Regions from separate parts of the Homo sapiens genome. Here all the other regions are linked to region 1. The links are contacts of gene promoters, found by promoter capture Hi-C in blood cells and fetal thymus (Javierre and others, 2016). All regions are on one chromosome and are shown on one strand. Each heading gives the region's core, a stretch centred on a gene start or on the middle of the fragment in contact. The rest is flanking DNA. Distances are from core to core; before and after follow the strand shown.

Region 1 (3,698 bases), core at 555-3,054:
TGCTGCAAGAGACGTGATTTCATTCTTTTTTATGGCTGAGTAATATTTTTTAATGTAAAAATGTTGACATTTTCCAAAATGAAAACTGTAAAACAAGATACATTTGGAGAAGTCTAGAGTGTTTGCTTTATTCATGTTGTTTATGCGTTAAAATATAAGCATATTGCATACATAAGCATATTTACACCCACATCTAAAAGATAACATATTATATATACTTTTCCATACTTCTGAACAAGCGTCTCATATCCATAACTAAAAATTAGATGAGAAAGGCAAAGAACTCTTGTCTTCGAATTGACTTCATTGCACTATATAGCATTTCACACTGCGGTTCCAGGCCACAGGGTCCCTTGGGTAGGGGGAGACAAAGGGTGTGGCTGACAGGGAGACTCTAGGACTACCATTGCCACTTCCACCAGAGCAGCCACACTTCTGTTCCACATAGTTGGCATCCAAATTTGATTTGAAAAACAGTTTCCACTACTAAAAGAAAAATCCTATGAGAAAATGACCACAAGCCAATTATCCACTCAAACCTGCTGATCCTGGCCTCTGGGAGAGGCTGTTTGGAGACCACATATTTCATATTAACTTTACCATGATGAGATTATCTTACTGTCTGGGGTCATCCAAACTTGAGCTCCAAGAAAACCCCTGTGTGAGGGAAAAAAAAAAAAAATCCTCCTCCATTCAACAGTAGAGCAAAGGACCTGACCAATCATTTTGTCCACGTCTTCATTTGAAGGAATCCTTCATGCCCATTTTATGAAATGTCTTTAGCTCTGATTAAAGAGGCAAGAAAATACAAAGGAAGAGATGGTTAGAGTTTGAAGCAAACTGTCATTTTGCCTGAGTATATAAAATTAAAAGTGCTTTCAAGATGAGGTATTGAATTAGTTCAATAACTGCAAGCTCCGGGTGGGCGCAGTGGCTCACATCTGTAATCCCAGCACTTTGGGAGGCCGAGGCGGGCGGATCACAAGGTCAGGAGATCGAGACCATCCTGACTAACACGGTGAAACCCCATCTCTACTAAAAATACAAATAATTAGCCGGCCATGGTGGAAGGTGCCTGTAGTCCCAGCTACTCGGGAGGCTGAGGCAGGAGAATCACTTGAACCCGGGAGGCGGAAGTTGCAGTGAGCCGAGATCGTGCCACTGCACTCCAGCCTGGGCAACAGAGAGAGACTCCCTCTCAGAAAAAAAAAAAAAAAAAAAAAAAAAAAAAGACCTGCAAGCGCCAGTGGAAGCTAGGTGTGCAGACTGACTTTCTTTTGCAATTTGCCATACCTTCCTTCTGCCACCTGGAAAAAATCACTCTTAGTTGTGCAAATGGGAAGGCAACTGGCACAAATTCTATGCATACACAGACACACAACACGTAAGTCCAGGACTCCCTGGGTGTGTCATGACTATACCCCTGGTGCCTGGCACAATGCCTGGTGTACAGCAGGTGATCAGTACATATTTTTGAAATGGATGAATGAATGTAAACATTTCTCCCCATCTTAAGCCAAATGGGTAGGCTCATTACTATTAAAAGATTGCCAACCTCTGTCTCAGACCTATTGCAGAAGTGATGTCAAAGTAGCATTTTTATGGGTAGCATCTGCAATTCCCATATTTTATGGGTCAGCAGGGAGTTGTTCTGAGTATTTATTCCATGATGCTTGAAATCTGAAGTGTATGTGTGGGACTGGCACCACTGTAAGAAAGCCCTTTATGAGGTCATCATCCCCCACTTGCCATCTCTCCCCAGATGCAGATGTGCAAGCTTTTAAAAACACTTGAGAAGCCACCATGCCTCGCTTTGCAAGCCCTCTTTTAAGAAATGTCATTATCAGAAGTCAATTTGATGGCATCAAGAGGAAGCAATGCCTCCAATATCTGAAAACCCTGAGAACACTGCAATATGATGGATTTAAGACCGTATATTTTGGGGAAACCAATATCCCAGAAAGTCTCGTAACTGGGGAAGATATTAGTGATGGATATTTCATACAAACCCCAACTTGGTGTATTGTGCATGCTGCGGGTAGTCAAGGATGGGTGCCTTGGAAATATCGGGTGTTCCTAAGAGACGAGCTGTGTATCAAACAAGAAGACAGCCTCTTCTCTGAGTTCTGTGATGTGGTGAGGAAGGCCTATGGAAAGTGTGTCATCGTGGTCAAAGAGAGAAGGCAGCAGGAAGAGCAGAGGCCAAAGGAAGACAGAGAGGCTGAGGGCCAGTTCTATATCCCTACAGTCATTAGCTTAGCAAGCATTATGTGTTGCCCAGAGGTGGCCAAGTCCTGTGGCCATGAACTACTCTCTCTGCCTTCCCCTTGTAATTATCTGAACCCTTTAGACTCAGCCTGGTCTTCTCTGAAATGGTTTATCATCAATAACAGAAACGAGTTTTGTTTGCAGTCCATTGACAGTGGCTATTCTTACCAATGTATACTTTTCAGCAATTTAATTAGCAAAGGAATTGAAAGGATAAACGCAAGCAAGTGGAGAACATTAACTAGCAAAGTACGGAGATGGGAAAACTACTATCTTGGGAAATTTTCTTAAGGGTGGTTCCTCCAACAAGCAGTGAGGCTGCTACATGTCTGGTCTTTACCGTCAACTCTGTTGAGATGAATTCCACACCACTGCAGCCAAAGATACTTCAACAGCGACCTCACATGGGGTGCTGCGAGAACTGGGTTGCTCCTAAGGATGTTGGCAAAGCGCTTTGAGTTTACTAGAAGTTTCATTAAAATTTGTTGGTAAGTTAGGGGTCTCGACTCTTATCTTGTGAAGGCTACTTTGAGGGCTTTGTCAAGGGGAGGATTAGGTCTAACCCAGCCCAAAGGTGGATGGCAATAAGCAGGGGTGAGCAGGCTGAAAGTTGAGTGGTCGAAATTTAGGTCTGAGAAAAAAAGAGAACCAGTGTGCAGTCATCCCCCAAAAAGCCCAAATTAAATAGTGTGCCAAGTTTCCACCCACCAAAGTAATCCACAGGGATCCAGCTTGCCATGGGCGAGATATTGTCCAGATGGTCGCCAAGCAAGACTCCCTCCTCCCGATTGTCCTTCCTTCCTTGTCGGCAAAGTGGTGGAGGATGAGTGAGAGGCAGCCGCAGAGGGGAAACTCCATCCGGACCCTCCAAGGGGAGTAGGTGGTCCCAGTTAGGACCTGGAAAGTTATGACAGTGGTGGGTTCAAGTGGGCTATGGTGGGCAAAGGGGTGGCACGCATGGGGGTCTGCAGAGACCACTTATCCAGCCAATCTCCCCGCCAACTCCAGGAATTCCAGCAGGTCATTAGACTGTGCCGTGGAGTTTCATCTCGAGACCCTGTAGCTGAGCCACTTGCAGCTGGGACAACACCTCCCTATTTAGGTTTGGGGCTGCTGCCGATGTCTGTTGTAAGAATCTGTGGTTGTCTTTTTCATTTTTATAGAAAAAGACTACCCCTATTAAACATATCATAAAATTCACTGTTGGTTATGTACATTCAGACAGTCATTTCAGAGGTAATCATTCCGAGGAGTGCAAAAAGAATAATTTATGGCTGGGCACAATGGCTCACACCTGTAATCCCAGCACTTTGGGAGGCCGAGGCAGGAGGACTGCTTGAGGTCACGAGTTCAAGACCAGCCTGGGAAACACAGCAAGACCTCATCTCTACAAAAATATTTAAAAATAGCTGGGCTGAGTGGCATACATC
Region 2 (3,641 bases), core at 717-3,216, 200 kb before region 1:
AGAATTTTGTATTATTTTTATTTGTAGTTCAGATGCAGAAATTTTGCCTTCCTTTCTCCTGAGGTTGTTTCATACCTAGGCCAAGATGTATAGGAGTAGGTTTTCTTCTAGAACTTGTACATTTTTGTTGTTGATGTTTGCTTTTAATTCACTGGACATTCTGGTATGAGGAGTGAGTTAGATTTCTGGTTTTCTCGTTTGCATGTTACCTGTGGGATGTTCCAATGTTGTTTGCTAAGCAGTGCTCTTTCTTTGAAGATTTGAAATACCACCTAAATGATCAAATATGCTCTTCTATCAGGATTCTTCTCTTGATCTTTTTGTTCATTTCTAAGCCAGTTTCATACTACTGTTTTCATGACTGTGATCTTACATTTTAGCGTGATTTAACAATTAATACAGTGAATTGTCCTATTCTTTTTTTCCAGTATTTGTTTTCCTGGCTAGTATCATTTGCTGCTTCTTCTTTGGGAACTCTAGAAGTATACTGTTACTTTCAAACTGTCCTCTACTCCCTTACAAGAATGAAAACGAAAATGGAACATCCAAACCTGTTAATATTTTGAGTGAGATTGCTTTGGGTTTATAGTTACTTAGGGAGAGTTGACGTCTTTACATCCTAGGTTCCTGTGGTGTTATTCTACTTATGTAAGCCATCTTTTCTCTACTCAGTACAGGGTGGAAGTTTTCTTTATATAGACCCTATCTATTTCTTTAATTTGTATTTATGTTTTAGATTCTTCAATATGAACATTTTTATGTAAATTTAAGAAATTATTTAAAAATGGGATTTTTAAATTACACTTATTTTTACCTCTATATAGAGAAGATTATTGTTTCTGTGTATTAATTTTGTAACCAACCACCTGTGCTAAAGCCTTTGACTATTTCTAATAGTTGATTCTTTTGCATTTTCTAGGTATAAAATCGTATCACCTGCAAATAATGATGATTTTTCCATCTTGTTTATAATACTTCAAATTGTATTTCAACATTATAGAGGCAGCAGATGGGTATTCTCATCTTATGGAAACACGCTAGTCTTTCACCACTGACCATAGCTTGGGTGTGGCAATATGGTATTTTATCTCACCTTCAGGTATCTTGATGACTTTCCCTGTTACAGACCTAGTTACCCCAACAGACACATCTAGCTTTCTTTCATTACTTTTACATAGGCTCCAAGCTGACACACAATTCTTCTTTAAAGAAGCAGCTTCCCGAACGTTCTGTGAGCCACATCTCCATCTGCACACTCTCGATGCTGCCCTGTGGAGGACTCCCTAGGGTGGTGGGAGTGTCCTGTATCCGCACTGTCCACTGCAGTAACCACTGGCCACTTGTGGCCACTGAGTGCTTGAAATGTGGTGGACATGACTGAGGAACTGAACTTTTAATTTTTTTCATTTTAATTAATTTTCATTTAAATTGTCATGTTATTGAGCACTTAAAATGTAGCTAGTACTACCGAGGAGTGTTTACTTTTGCTAATTTTCATTGACATAGCCCCATGTGGCTGGTAGCTGCAGAACTGGGCTGCACGGGTTCCTCGCTCATTCATGGAAGGGTAAGATATGAATGCTAGAAAGGCCCTGGTGGCCACTCATTGTGCCCAGAGATGCTGAGATTGGGCCCACATCACACAGCAAGTTCATGACGAAACTGAGACTGGGAGCCCAGGATTCTTACTCTCTGTCTCAAGCTGGTGTCACTGTCCAACCCCTTCTTTACTCCTCCCCTCCCATTTCCCTTCTGTAAGTTATCACCGAAGTCCCAGTGTGTGCAGACCAACGCACAGCACAGTGAGCAGGCCCGAGCCTCGCAGACACCTTCCCTAGTGTGGGTCCAGCCAAGGGCTGTGCAGTTGTTGAGTTTTCAGCCGAGCTCCTTCACTCCACAGTGCAAAGGTTCTCGCAAGATAAAGGCAGGGAGGCAAAGTCCTCGGCCCTTTGTCGAGGTGGAAAGCACCCTGAGGTACTGTGTTGGTGTTCCAACATCATCAGGAAATGCCCATCCCGGTTCGAATGTATTTTCCAGTGCTTCTAAAAGAAGACTTTCTGCATCTTCTGCATGGCAGCGGGGGTTGCTCCTGTCCCTGAGACGGCTCTAAACCTTACGAGAACCCAGCCTGCCGTGGTCAGGGAGTGGAGAGAATATAGAAAGCAGAGCCTTCGAGAAGGCCCTCAGCTGAGGCTCCAGTGGGCAAGGAGGCTTTCTCGGTCATGCAGGAGCCACAGCCCTGCTTGCACTTCGAGTTTTTTCTACTTTAGCCAACTCTTTCTCTCTTTCCCCAGTGAGGGGGTTCCCTGCATCAGTCCCTGGGCCCCTGTGGGTCTCCTCAGCCTTCCCTCCCAGTCGTTCATTCAAAAGAAGCAGGAGGGAACCACGCTACAGAGACTCTCGGCTTTTTCTGGAGGGCAGGAAGGCCTCCGCTTATACTGGAGGTCACCTGTTGGAGCTTAGAGGTTAAGAAGGCCGGGCACTTGAGCTTCTTCCTGGCACTGCTGCTCCCTGGTAGCATGGACATGGGTGCTTCAGTTTGCCCACTTGTAGGATGGGGCTCATAATAGCCACCTCACAGGGCTCCGGGGATGGGGACGTGAGTCCACAGACAGAAAGTGCCGAGAGTCCACTCTCCACAGATGTCAGCACTGATCCACACTAAGATGTCTTCTCTACCTGCTTCAAGGGCAGGTGACCTCCAGGAAGGGCCCCCTCTGCTCCTCGGCCAGAATCCTTGAGGCAGGCTTATCTGGGGAGCTTGGCCTGCATCTGCGTAGATGGACTGTGTGGGGGACCCCCAGACTCCCCTTTTCACACGTATGTCCCACCCCTGCCGGGGGGTGGTCAGCTTGTCTGACACCACAGGTCCCCAGCTCCTTGAGGCAGCCTGTCCGGCCTGCCCAGTGGCCCCCATCAGAGCCATCCAGGCAGCGTGTGAGTGGGTGTTGGGAGCAGTGCCCTTCCAGTGGCCGGCGAAGGCAGTGTGCATGCCTGAATCTGCTGCCAGTTGAGAAGTCAGCTCCTCAGGTGGGACAAGGACCCTGGCCTTCCTGGGAACCTGAGCAGATTGCGCAGTTTCCTTTTCTCAGCACGGCTCCTGCACTGGCTTACGTAACAGCAACAACCTGCAGAGCCTGGGCTCCGGGGCTCATTCCCAGACAGTGAAGTCTATGATGAATAGATGGGTCTGTACACTCTTAGCAGAGAGCCAGTAATTTGCTCAAAGGTCAAACTTAGCTTGATTCAGAACACAAAATTACTAGGATTCTATTCTTTCTGCGGGTGTTGCTTCTGTATTTTTCATGGTCAAGGAAAAGCTGTGAAGCACTTTCTTAGGGCTTAAGAGCTAAGGGATTTTTCCTCCTTTTTTGATGACCCTCTTTTCCAGCATCTCAGCACACCCCCAGATGGGAAGAGGCTATGATGAATTTCTCCCACCATTTATGCCACACCCACTCTGTGCCAGTTACTAGAGCAAGTGGTTTCCAGGTGTGTGTGTAAGGAAATGCTCTTAGTGCATTTGTTCTGTGTCAGGCACTGTTTTCCATAGTGTTTGTCCAGTGCCAGGTGCTGCTGTAAGTATGGCACTGCCTAGAAGTGTGAATGCATTTCATCCTCACATAAACCCTGTGAAGCAG
Region 3 (3,583 bases), core at 76-2,575, 250 kb before region 1:
GCAGGCTCTTGGTTTCCTCTTACACATGAGGAACTCCCAATCTGCCCAGTCTCCCTCCAATCTGCCCAGTCTCCCTCCCTTCATCATCCCATCACCTGCCATCCCTCCTGAAATCAAAATTCTTATCCTGTTACCGAGTGTAAGTTCTATGAAGAGTTTTGAAGCTAGAACAGCAAACTCTTTTATGGTGCTGACGATATGCCAGGCACTACTATAAACACATAACATACATTAGCTCATATGATTAATATAATCCTTGACGTAAATGCTAACGATGTAAAGATGTGGGATAGAGAAGGTAAGCAATTTGCCCAAGGGCACACCGTCGGGAAGTGGTAGAGCCCCACAGTGCAGAGTGTACCCAGACAGCCTGGCTCCAGCGTCTGTGAACCTAACCCCATGAACGTAACCCTTCCTAAGGCTGGGGAAGCATGTGCCTGGTTGCAAGCATTGTGCCATGTGTGCATGCATTTAGCAGTCATGCACTGGGACCTGCTGGTTGCCAGCCACTGTGCTGGGGCCAGGGACACAGGGGTCACAAGGCCATCTAGTCTATGTCCTTGTGCAGCCACATTCCTGGGGGGCTTCAGACAATTAGACAAACAATGACAACATGAGGAAGTAAATGTTCTGCATATCTAGGAGTATTTAGGAGGAGTGCCCAACTGGGACCCAGGGCCAGGCCAGGTAGATGTGGGGAGGGTTGGTCAGCTCTGAGGTACACCTGAAGGATGAATAGAGGTTTTGCTGGCCAGGAAAAAGGTGGGAGATGGCATTCCAGGCAAGGAAAGGGCATGGGAAAAACCCAGAGCAAGGAGTATGCCAGGGAAAAAAGTTGTCTCAGTGAGGATGGAGCCAAGTGTGAACAGGGACAGCAGGCAACTGAGAGGCCTGGAGAGGCAGGCAAGGACTTCCCTTGGTTCTTACCTTTTAAATTTCTTTCATTTTTAGAGACAGGGTCTCACTCTCTTGACCAGGTTGGAGGTACAGTGGTGCAATCATGGCTCACTAAAGTCTTGCACTCCTGGGTTCAAGCAATCTTCCTGCCTTAGCCTCCCGAGTAGCTGGGACTAGAGGCACAAGCCACCACTCTTGGCTAATTTTTTATTTTCTATTATTTGTAGAAATGGGGTCTCACTGTGTTGCCCACGCTGGTCTCGAACTCCTGGCCTCAAATGATCCTCCCACCTCAGCCTCCCAAGGTATTGGGATTATAGGCATGAGCTACACACCCAGCCAAGGACTGCACTTTGAAGGGCCCCACAAGCCCCATCAGAAAGTCTGGGCTTTATCCGAAGAGCATTAAGGCACCCCAAGGGGCTGCCCACTGTGGGGTGGTATGGACCGCTGTGCATGTAGAACACGCAGGAGATGAGTTAGGAGGATGCAGTAGCAGTCCCAGGGGATGAAGGTGGCCTGGATGATGCCTTGGCCCCCACTCTCTACAAATCTAATGCAACCGCTTCCTGAAATCGAATGCAACCGCTTCCTGAAAAGTGGAGGCTCCAACCTTGGGAGTCCAGGACCTGAAAATTGTGCTGGGCTCAACATCAAAGAGTAATGGAGTGGGGGGTGTTGTCTGAAAAGGGCCTGACCAACTGCGGGGCTGTGATTTTTTTCCACCAGCAATTCTCAACCAGGGGCAATGTGCCAATGTCTGGAGACATTTTTGGTTGTCACAGCATGTGGGGGAGTACTACTGGTACCATGCGACCAGCCAGTGTTGCTCAAGGCTTTCTCTTCTTTCCTTTCCCACATTCCCAGAAAGGCTACAGGGCACCACTGGCCAGAGTTGGCTGGCGGCTCAATGCTGCGAAAATAACAAAAAAAGAACTGCTTATATTTACTTAAAGAAACACTGAAAGAGTAAACAAGAAATTGATCTAAATGGTTATGTAGGGGAAAGTGTGAGGGTGGGAATGATTCAACTCTGTGAATACTTTTGTAGAGTGTTTTTGACTTTTGATTCCTGTGCACTGATTACCAATTCAAAAATAATATTATTTTTAGCCGGGCGAAGTGGCTCACGCCTGTAATCCCTGCACTTTGGGAGGCCAAGACAGGTGGATCACCTGAGGTCAGGAGTTCAAGACCAGCCTGGCCAAAATGGTGAAACCTTGTCTCTACTAAAAATACAAAAATTAGCGAGGCATGGTGGCACTCGCCTATAATCCCAGCTACTCAGGAGACAGGCAGGAGAATCACTTGAACCCAGGAGGTGGAGTTTGCAGTGAGTCAAGACCACACCACTGAACTCCAGCCTGGGTGACAGAGTGAGAGATTCTGTCTTAAAATAATAATAATAATAAAGAAAGAAAAAATGTTTTTTTTAAAGAGATTAGCAATTCAGATTTCCAAACGTTAATCCCTTCTGGCCTTTATTTGTAAACTCTGGGTTTTTTTTTTCTTTTTTTTTTTTGAGACAGAGTCTCTCTCCGTCATCAGGATGAAGTGCAGTGGCGCCATCTTGGCTCACTGCAACCTCTGCCTTCTGGGTTCAAATGATTCTCTTGCCTCAGCCTCCCGGGTAGCTGGGATTGCAGGTGTGCACCACCACACCCAACTAATTTTTGTATTTTTAGTAGAGACGAAGTTTCACCATGTTGGCCAGGATGGTCTCGATCTCTTGACCTCATGATCTGCCCCCCTTGGCCTCCCAAGGTGCTGGGATTACGGGCATGACCCACCACGCCCGGCCAACTCAGGGTTTTTCTAATGAATTCTCTTCTTAATGAATCTGCAGCGTCTTTATTAAAACTCCATTCTGGCTGATTCATATACCTCCTACACTGTACTTCATGCATGTTTCACATGCTTCTTGTAAAATTTTCACAACTGATGTAGACCCTATTTCTTTAAAAAGGCCCAACCTTCCCTTTAGACTTTACTGAAGCCAACAATGGACTCGTTTCAGTGAGCCTTGTTTTGTTCCAGGGCTTACCTGTGAAATGCATTTATTCCACCAGGAAGCTTTTGAAAAAATCAGTCATCTGATCCCTTCTTGGTATCCATAGGCTCTGGGAGGTCAAAGTTCCTGTTTTCTTCCACTGGCATCATCCCTTCACAAGCCTTTTTAAGTGCTGCTGTGGCTTGTCAGGAGGGCGGATCATATATCCAAGGTATATAAGCCCCCTTTCAGGACACGTTCATCTGTGAAGTGGTTTTTGGCAGGTGATCAGCCTCCAGGAATTTAAGGCCTTGACTTGCTGGCAAAAGCCCTAGATCATGGGACCCAAGCTCCCTGATTTGGTGGGTCAGCCTTGGAATTCATGACGCACCTGACTGTATCAGGCAGGCTGGCATGCTGCTTCTGTGCTCAGATAAGTGGAATCAAACGCTTCCCAAGTTTCCAGGGGCTGGCCCTTGGTGCCAGCCGGCTTCCTTTGGAGGTGATGTAAGGCAAACAGAACCCTGAGTCCTAGATTTGGGAGCAAAGTGGGATTCATCAGCAAAAAGGGGACTTCATGCTGGAGGAAATTCAATGCCCTGTCCAGGAGGGAGTTTTCCATTTCTCTAGGATTTGAGGAACATGCAATGCCATCAGAGGACACTTCAGTACCAGGATTCTTCCCCCTGGGGACAG

What was found. The method cuts DNA at HindIII sites, captures the fragments that hold promoters and counts their contacts. A CHiCAGO score of 5 or more calls a contact.
Region 2: a contact is called between a fragment that was not itself captured here and the fragment with the promoter of C21orf140 in region 1, in 12 of 17 cell types (M2 macrophages, M0 macrophages, M1 macrophages and 9 more). The highest score is 16.3, in M2 macrophages.
Region 3: a contact is called between a fragment that was not itself captured here and the fragment with the promoter of C21orf140 in region 1, in 9 of 17 cell types (M0 macrophages, M2 macrophages, M1 macrophages and 6 more). The highest score is 10.6, in M0 macrophages.

Annotation. Positions count from the first base shown.
Region 1 is chr21:34,399,178-34,402,875 of GRCh38, reverse strand. C21orf140 (chromosome 21 open reading frame 140) reads left to right here and starts at 1,804. Exons shown (of 1, transcript NM_001282537.2): 1 at 1,804-2,764. The coding sequence starts at 1,804. The coding sequence ends at 2,559. The HindIII fragment of the contact is 9,278 bases long and covers 1,780-3,698 here.
Region 2 is chr21:34,595,055-34,598,695 of GRCh38, reverse strand. The region is part of intron 1 of RCAN1 (regulator of calcineurin 1); the gene reads left to right. Among named protein-coding and RNA genes, the nearest start is that of RCAN1, 18 kb to the left of the region's middle. The HindIII fragment of the contact is 8,670 bases long and covers 1-3,641 here.
Region 3 is chr21:34,644,610-34,648,192 of GRCh38, reverse strand. No RefSeq gene overlaps it. Among named protein-coding and RNA genes, the nearest start is that of CLIC6, 23 kb to the left of the region's middle. The HindIII fragment of the contact is 3,295 bases long and covers 1-2,972 here.